3 separate regions of the Homo sapiens genome follow, and all the other regions are linked to region 1. The links are contacts of gene promoters, found by promoter capture Hi-C in blood cells and fetal thymus (Javierre and others, 2016). All regions are on one chromosome and are shown on one strand. The core of a region is centred on a gene start or on the middle of the fragment in contact, and the rest is flanking DNA. Distances in the headings are between cores, read along the strand shown. Region 1 holds the start of C1orf220 (chromosome 1 putative open reading frame 220). Region 2 overlaps SOAT1 (sterol O-acyltransferase 1). Region 3 overlaps FAM20B (FAM20B glycosaminoglycan xylosylkinase).

Region 1 (2,533 bases), core at 18-2,517:
TCACAGCCCTTGCTATGCTGACAGGCCCATCCCACCCCAGCCCGCTCCCCCCACCACCTGCCCCCCTCCGCCACCTCACCTGTGCCTTCTGCACGCCTCTCCCACCACTCCCCCTCCCTCCCTTTACTCTGGCCACTCTGAATGTCACTGGTCCTCCTTGAGCCCTCCTGAGCCCTCTGCCCAGAGTAATGCCAGAGTGGAGGCCACAGCTGAAGGCAGAGGCTGTTGGCCTGGGGTGGAGAGGGGAGATTCCTCTGGGTGGAAGGTGACATTGGGCAGCCTTGGATGAAGTGAATACCTGGTGTGGGGAAGCAAAAATAAATAGAGAAACAAACGGATTAATTTTGCTTCTTTCCAGGGACTTGATTTTCTACAAGTGCTGCTCCAAGAGGCTTCTACACCCCCGCAGGGAGGCAAGCACCGTTTTGAGGTGGCCGGGCTGGCGAGGAGGTGCAGACCCCAGCCAGCTGGAGGGGCTCTGCCCTGATGGCGTTCCCACTCCCACCTCATTCGCAGGGCGCCGGGGAGGGCTGCAGGTGTTCTATTCCCACCCGGCTTGCAGCGCAAGGAGGGGAATCGCCTGACACCTTCCCCTTCTCCTCTGCCCCGCTTCCTTTCTCTGCTCCCACAGGTGGAAGTCACCAGCGGAAACAACCCTTCACTGTATGGAGGGCTGGGAGAGAGGGGCCAAGAGGGCCCCGGGAGAGCCACTGGGCGGCAGGCAAGGGGCGGGGCAGTCTCCCTTCCGGCTTCCGGGACCGAAGGGTGAAGGGCAAGGGGAGCTCAGGGAATGAACGAGTGCTCCCGACTAATGTTTAACCCACGACTCCGAGACTCCGACTGGTCACAGTCCTGCAGACCTCCAGGTCCTGCACAGGCGACGCAGCGCTCCACTGGCCCGGAATGCGCACCCCGGGGGAAATGGAAAGTGCCATTGAAATGTCAGATGTCACCGTCTTCATCAGCACTCTTGGAATTTTGGCCAAAGTGGCTTCTTCTTTTGCTGAGACTTGACTCACTCCCGGCAGAGGGATGATAGCGGCCTTGCCCCGAGCGTTTATCCGGCTGCAGGCGTCATTCTTGGTCGCCTGTGTGTCCAGAGCCCCAGCGCAGGAAGGGAGCGCAATTCCCACCGCGCCCGCTGGGTGGCGCTAGCGCCGCACCGTGTCCCGGGATGAGGGGAAACCGCGCTGCCCAGTCAGTACCCCGACGCCCCCGCGCCCCCGCCGGGCCCCGCGCGCTGCAGCCACCGCCTCTTCTCGGCTTCCTCTTGCTTTACAGTAACTCTCCTCCTGGGGAAAAGGCTTTTCACGGAGCAGGCTCGGAGCCTACGGGGCTGGCCTCGGACTGGATGGGGGTAAGGACGGGTGGCGGCGCTCGCGCCGAGCGAACGGAGGGCTCAGGCGGCCGGTGATCAGGGACGGGCTGCGGCCGCCGTCTGGGGTGAGAGGCCCACCCAGAGCTCTGGGCCAGGGCTCGCGGCTCTCGTGCAGATGCTGGGCCGGGAGGTGTGGGGAGGGGGCTTCCCAGGCGGGGCAACCGGAGGGGAATGGGGTGTGCAGGAGGGAGGGGAGGCGTGGAGCGCCCGGCCTGCAGGCACTGGGCGGCGCTCTCCAGCCTCCTCTTCTCCCGCCGGGTGCCTGGTGGCTTGGCCTCCCCTCCAGAGCTTCGCATATCCTGGCGGGAGCCGGCGCTCTCTCTCCATACTTAGGACTTGACCCTTATTCCACACCCGGGCAGGGAATCATTTGCCCAATCCGAATTTGATTTTCTGCTTGTGAGAGGAGAAACTGGTGACAGTGTCGCATGGACACTGTCGGGGAAGCCGAGACGTAGACCTGGAAGCCTGTACCAGAGGCCTTGTGGACAGCTTTGGAGCATGCATCTTAAGGCACACCACCGGTTTCTGCTGCTTTGGCACAGCCACGCAGCACCTAGGATGCTTCTCTGCACGCAGCAGAGGCCTAATCCGTGCACCCTCTGACGGTGTTGGAGGGAGCTGGGGAGCAACATCAGATTAATAGCCCCTGGGCTATTTGTATGACGTGCAGATTTCACCCTCTCATTCTTAAAGGGTGAAAGGCTGCAATTCAGAAAGGCGAAGATGGGGCCCAGGAATCTGCAATCTGCGTGGGGTTTTTTTTTTTTTTATGAAGTCTTGTTCTGTCGCTCAGGTTGGGGTGCAGTGGCGCGATCTGTGCTCACCGCAACCTGTCTTCCAGGTTCAAGCGATTATCCTGCCTCAGCCTTCTGAGTAGCTGGGACTACAGGTGCATGACACCACACCTGGCTAATTTTTGTATTTTTAGTAGAGATGGGGTTTCACCATGTTCGCCAGGCTGGTCTTGAACTCCTGACCTCAAGTGATACGCCCACCTTGGCCTCCCAACGTGCTGGGATTACAGGCATGAGCCACCGCGCCTGGCCAGAGTTTGCATTTTGTTGTTGTCGTTTGTTTGTTTGAGACGGAGTCTCGCTCTGTGGCCCAGGCTGGAGTGCAGTGGCGCCATCTCGACTCACTGCAACCTCTGCT
Region 2 (2,533 bases), core at 15-2,514, 770 kb after region 1:
CTATCTCTGCTCACCGCAACCTCCGCCTCCCAGGTCCAAGCGATTCTCTTGCCTCACCCTCCCAGGTAGCTGGGATTATAGGCATGCGCCACCACGCCTGGCTAATTTTGTATTTTTAGTAGAGACGGGGTTTCCCCATGTTGGTCAGGCTGGTCTCGAACTCCTGACCTCCGGTGATCTGCCTGCCTCGGCCTCCCAAAGTACTGGGATTACAGGTGTGAGCCACCGTGCCTGGCCACACATTGTATGTTTATAGGACGACACTGATCAGGAATGTAACTGGTGGCCTAGAAAGTAAGTAGATAAGCTTCCCTTAGGCCAAAGCCTATTAAATACAATATTGTCAAGAAAAGAGAGCATGGCATTAAGAGGCATCTGACTGAGCTTCAGGCCTCAGAAAAATCCAACAAGTCTTCATGCTTCATTCCTTTGCCTGGAATAATGTTTCTAGCATTTGTTCACCATAATTTTTCTTTATTATTTGAGACTCAGTTCAAATATTGACTCCTGCAAAAGCCTCCTACACCCCTCATTCTCCCACAGCGCTCCTCTGTATTGTCCTTTTCCCTATTTGTAGTTTTCTCCTGAGATCCTGAAGGGAGGGTTTGCCCTGCATGTATTGGGTCCTCAGTGGGCTTTTACTTAATGCATGAGTATATAAATTGAGTAAATTAGTTACCAATTTAACAAGCCTGGTTATTTGTCTCTTTTCTTCTGTGTAGCTTTGGCGGTAGATTGACTATAGTAATAGAAGTGTACGATTGTTAGGGAGAACCCTGTGGAAGCAGCCTAGGTAGAAAGGCACAGCTCCCCAGGACTGCTGAGTGGGGCCTGATTGCACTCCACATTTCCGTTTTTGCTAAAGATATCACTATAATAGTATGGTACAACAATGGATCTCTCTTACTTGTTCCGAAGATTATGTAGGGTAAAGTACATTTTTGTTTTATTTTTTTGTAGAGAATGGGGGGGTCTCACTTTGTTGCTCAGGCTGGTCTCAAACTCCTGGCTTCAAGTGACCCTCCTGTCTCAGCCTCACAAAGTGCTGGGATGATAATAGGCGTGAGCCAGCACGCCTGGAGTCTGGTGTTTTTTTTAGGGTAGCAAAGCATGTCATAATTTTACAAAAATTTTCATCAAAACTGGTTAAAATAAGATTTTTGACATGTCAAGGAATAAATTTTAAACATTCCCATTAAGTATAGCAGGTTTTAAAAGAGATAGCATTTATTCATGAAGATAAGTATTGCAAGCCTGATTTTTTTAGAAATCAGAAATTTAAGGGAAAAAATGTTGAATAGTTTTCCTTATGGACTTATGCGGGGTTCTATTAAGTTTCAGATAGCAAATAACTGACTCCTAGTGTTAGCAGTTAGTGTGTTACTAGAGGGAGGCAAATGATTCCGAAATTACATCACCCTCAGTCCTGGCTTATCATTGTTTCAGGGTCAGTGTTTTAGAAATTGAGAAGCCTTGAGTTGAGTGCTTGTAAATAGTTCTTCAAATCATTGGATGTGGGTGGGGATGGTGGCTCATCCTTGTAATCCCAACAGTTTCAGAGGCCAAGGCATGAGGATTGCTGGAGGCCAGGAGTTCAAGACCAGCCTGGGCAACATAGCGAGGCTCTGCCTTTACAAAAAAATTTTTTTTAATTAGGTGGGTGTGGTGGCATGTGAGTGTGGTGGCATGTGCCTGTAGTCCTAGGTACTTGGGAGGCTGAGGCGGGAGGATCCCTTGAGCCTAGGAGTTCCAGGCCACAGTGAGCTATGATCATGCCATAGCCACTGCCCCCTAGCCTGAGCAACAGAGTGAGAACCTGTCTTAAAAAAAAAAAAGCAGTGGATATTAGCTTTTAGGCATTCTTTTGACTTTGACATCTAATTTTTAAATTTTAAATTGTAGAAAGTTAAGAATTTCTTTGTAATATTGTATGAAGAGGTATTTTGAAGGTAAAGGAAAATGAATTAGCATTTTAAAATATATTTTTCTTCCACTTACTTAACTTTGTCATTTTCAGTGGGGTCTTCAGAGACTCTGTGAACAAATCTTTTTTCTAACTTTCCAGTGGCTGCATCTCAAAGCCTGTTTGTAATGATGGCTGTCGTGTTATTTATGGATAGACAGATTCTTTTTGGAAGGGATGCACAAGTAGTGAGAATTAATCTTTTACAGTCTCCTTACCAATCCTCCTCTCCCATGGTAGCTGAATTAGTTGAAGGAAAGAAGCTTTTGTCTTCATTTTTTTATGAAATAGTTCATTTATGAAACCATGGTCTGGTCATAGAACTAAATTAAAAATATATTCTTTAACTTATTGAAAAATCAAATGGACATTTGTCTTACCCTTATATTTCTTAATCAGTTACCAATTTGTAAATATCTTAAATTAATCCTCTGCTCTCCATTCTCCTTGCCATTTACAACATCACTTTTTGTCCGGATTTATTGCATTTCTCTGTTATGTGGTCCTTTCCATCTTCCAATATCAGCTCAGTATTTTCCTGCATAAAATTCTTAGTTTCCTCAAAGCCCT
Region 3 (2,533 bases), core at 11-2,510, 520 kb after region 1:
GTTACTTTTATCTTGAATAAAAAATGTTTATTCATTTTGAATAAATAGAATGTCCTTATTTTTTTAGGCCTGAGCTATTTGGAGAGCACATTGTATTTCCATTTCATATTCTGCATTCTCTGTGGTGGCCGGTTTAGTGCCACACTTTTTTTTTTTAAGTTTTTTTGAGACGGAGTTTTGCTCTGTTGCCCAGGCTGGAGTGCAGTGGCACAATCTCAGCTCACTGCAACTTCTGTCTCCTGGGTTCAAGCGATTCTCCACCCTCAGCCTCCTGAGTAGCTGGGACTACAGGCACTCGCTAATTTTGTATTTTTAGTAGAGACAGGGTTTCGCCATTTTGGCCAGGCTGGTCTTGAACTCCTGACCTCAAGTGCTCTGCTTGCCTCGACCTCTCAAAGTGCTGGGATTACAGGTGTAGTGCCACACTTTTAGTTGCATTTAATAAATATTTACTAAATAGAACGCTTCCTTGGAGTACAGAATTTTCCAGGCCCTAGGTCACTACTGTTAACATTGGTTGTTGGAAATAAGCTAAGACATGGCTCCTCAGCAAAGAGTGCTTGGGCAGCATTTGCTAATGATGCCACCATCTTATACTGAACACCAGGCGCCTCATGCTTTGTGAAAGATGGTGATGGCCACAGAAAATGAAAAACCAGCAAACACTGCCTCTCCCTCTACCCCATTACAGCAAAGCACATAGCACTCATCCTGTGATACACATGATACTTGATATTTGGTGTATATCAAAATAGTTGCTTTGTCCACTCGGGCCGCTATAACAAAATCCCTTAGACTGGGTAATTCATAAGCATCAGAAATGTATTGCTTACAGTTTTGGAGGCTGGGAACTCTAAGATGAAGGTGCCAGCAGATTCAGTGTCTGGTGAGGGCCTGTTTCTCAGATGGTGCCTTCTATGTGTCCTCATATGGCAGAAGAGGTAAACACGCTCCCTCTGGCCTCATTTATAAGGGCACTAATCCCGTTCATGTGGGCTCTTCCCTCGTAACTTAATCATCTCCCAAAGGCCCTACTTCTTAATACTGTTGGACTGTTGTACCAGGGATTACGAATTTGAGGGGGACACAAACATTCAGACCATAGCAGTTGCCTTTGCCTTGAATTACTGGAGGACCTACACTGTACTAAGGGCTACCAGACTCTAGCTATTAAGGTGAGCCTCTGGAAAGATTGAAAGGTTGACAGTTTTCCAGAATCAGTTCTCCTTTTCTAACTCTGAATTGCTGCTAAGGTAATTTTTGCATCTGCTGTGAATCAGTTTCCTCAGCCTGTGTGAACAGTTTTTCCAATTTGAATCTGTACTTATACTTACTTGTAGGGAATAGGATATTGCTAATTTGGGAGTAGAATAAGTGTGACTTCTTTTTACAAGTAATGGTCATCTGCTTGTTTGTGGGAATCTAATATAAATGGCTTTTATTTCTCTCTGGTCCTTAAAACCTTTGCAGGCTTAGGGGTCTTCAAGTTCTCCCTTTGGTCTGTGAACTCCGCACTGTGTTTACCATAGTTATGCTCCAGCACCTTGTGATATCTTGGCAGGAAAATGTCCCTTGTAAATGAGTATATTTGTTGTCAGATATTTTAGTACAGGCTGTTAGGGATCCTGTGTCTAATTGGTCATGCCCCGCTTGTTTTCAATTTAAGTGATTTGAGCTGCTGGAGCGTGAAATTATCTAGGATCACATTTGAGTTTCATATAGAATTTGCTATTGCTTTGATGCTAAGAAGAGAACAGTACTTCCACCTAATTCACTAAGTTTTAATTTAATTTTCAGCTTTGGGAACCCCTCGCTGGATGAAAGAAGCATTCTTGCCCCTCTCTATCAGTGTTGCATGTAAGTTATGCACAGCAAATACATGTGCCTGCATTGCCTTCTTTTCCAGGCTCAGGTAACAGTACATCCATTTTCTTGGCCCTCAAACTTTCTGATACCTGAGCAGTGCTTTTCATACTTTTCCAACCTAGAACCTCTGGACATCCTGAAATGGGATATCAGGGAAAGGTGAAGGCAGATAACCCAAAGCTCAGAATTCATCTCAAATTTTGTATGAATAGAAGATTGTATGTATACAGTAATACATGTTTGGTTTAATAGCAGAATATAATCACCCACACTCCCCACCCCACTGCCAAAAAAAAAAAAAGGAGTAAAATCTGTATGCCTGGTTACTACACCTGGTTACCTTGTGGTTTTAACTCCTCTCACTCACCCATCACATACCACCTGGGGTTTACATATTTCAGTTTGAAATTGTCTAAACCAAAAGTAACTTTTTCCATAAATAATAATTTATTTTGGCCAGGCACAGTGGCTCACTCCTGTAATCCCAGCAATTTGGGAGGCCAAGGTGGGTGGATCACCTGAGGTCAGGAGTTCGAGACCAGCCTGGCCAACATGGCGAAACCCCGTCTCTATTAATAATACAAAAATGAGCCGGGCATGGTGGCAGGCACCAGTATTCCAGCTACTTAGGAGGTTGAGACAGGAGAATTGCTTGAACCTGGAAGGC

What was found. The method cuts DNA at HindIII sites, captures the fragments that hold promoters and counts their contacts. A CHiCAGO score of 5 or more calls a contact.
Region 2: a contact is called between a fragment that was not itself captured here and the fragment with the promoter of C1orf220 in region 1, in 1 of 17 cell types (erythroblasts). The highest score is 5.5, in erythroblasts.
Region 3: a contact is called between a fragment that was not itself captured here and the fragment with the promoter of C1orf220 in region 1, in 1 of 17 cell types (fetal thymus). The highest score is 6.8, in fetal thymus.

The regions. Positions count from the first base shown.
Region 1 is chr1:178,541,529-178,544,061 of GRCh38, forward strand. C1orf220 (chromosome 1 putative open reading frame 220) reads left to right here and starts at 1,268. Exons shown (of 3, transcript NR_033186.1): 1 at 1,268-1,357. It overlaps LOC124904460 (a long non-coding RNA gene), which reads right to left and starts at 1,117. Exons shown (of 2, transcript XR_007066748.1): 1 at 506-1,117; 2 at 1-298. RefSeq lists an enhancer at 963-1,022 and silencers at 1,073-1,402, 1,433-1,502. The HindIII fragment of the contact is 17,585 bases long and covers 1-2,533 here.
Region 2 is chr1:179,313,647-179,316,179 of GRCh38, forward strand. The region is part of intron 2 of SOAT1 (sterol O-acyltransferase 1); the gene reads left to right. Among named protein-coding and RNA genes, the nearest start is that of SOAT1, 21 kb to the left of the region's middle. The HindIII fragment of the contact is 1,919 bases long and covers 306-2,224 here.
Region 3 is chr1:179,065,003-179,067,535 of GRCh38, forward strand. It overlaps FAM20B (FAM20B glycosaminoglycan xylosylkinase), which reads left to right. Exons shown (of 8, transcript NM_014864.4): 7 at 1,798-1,857. Among named protein-coding and RNA genes, the nearest start is that of TOR3A, 16 kb to the right of the region's middle. The HindIII fragment of the contact is 2,903 bases long and covers 1-2,533 here.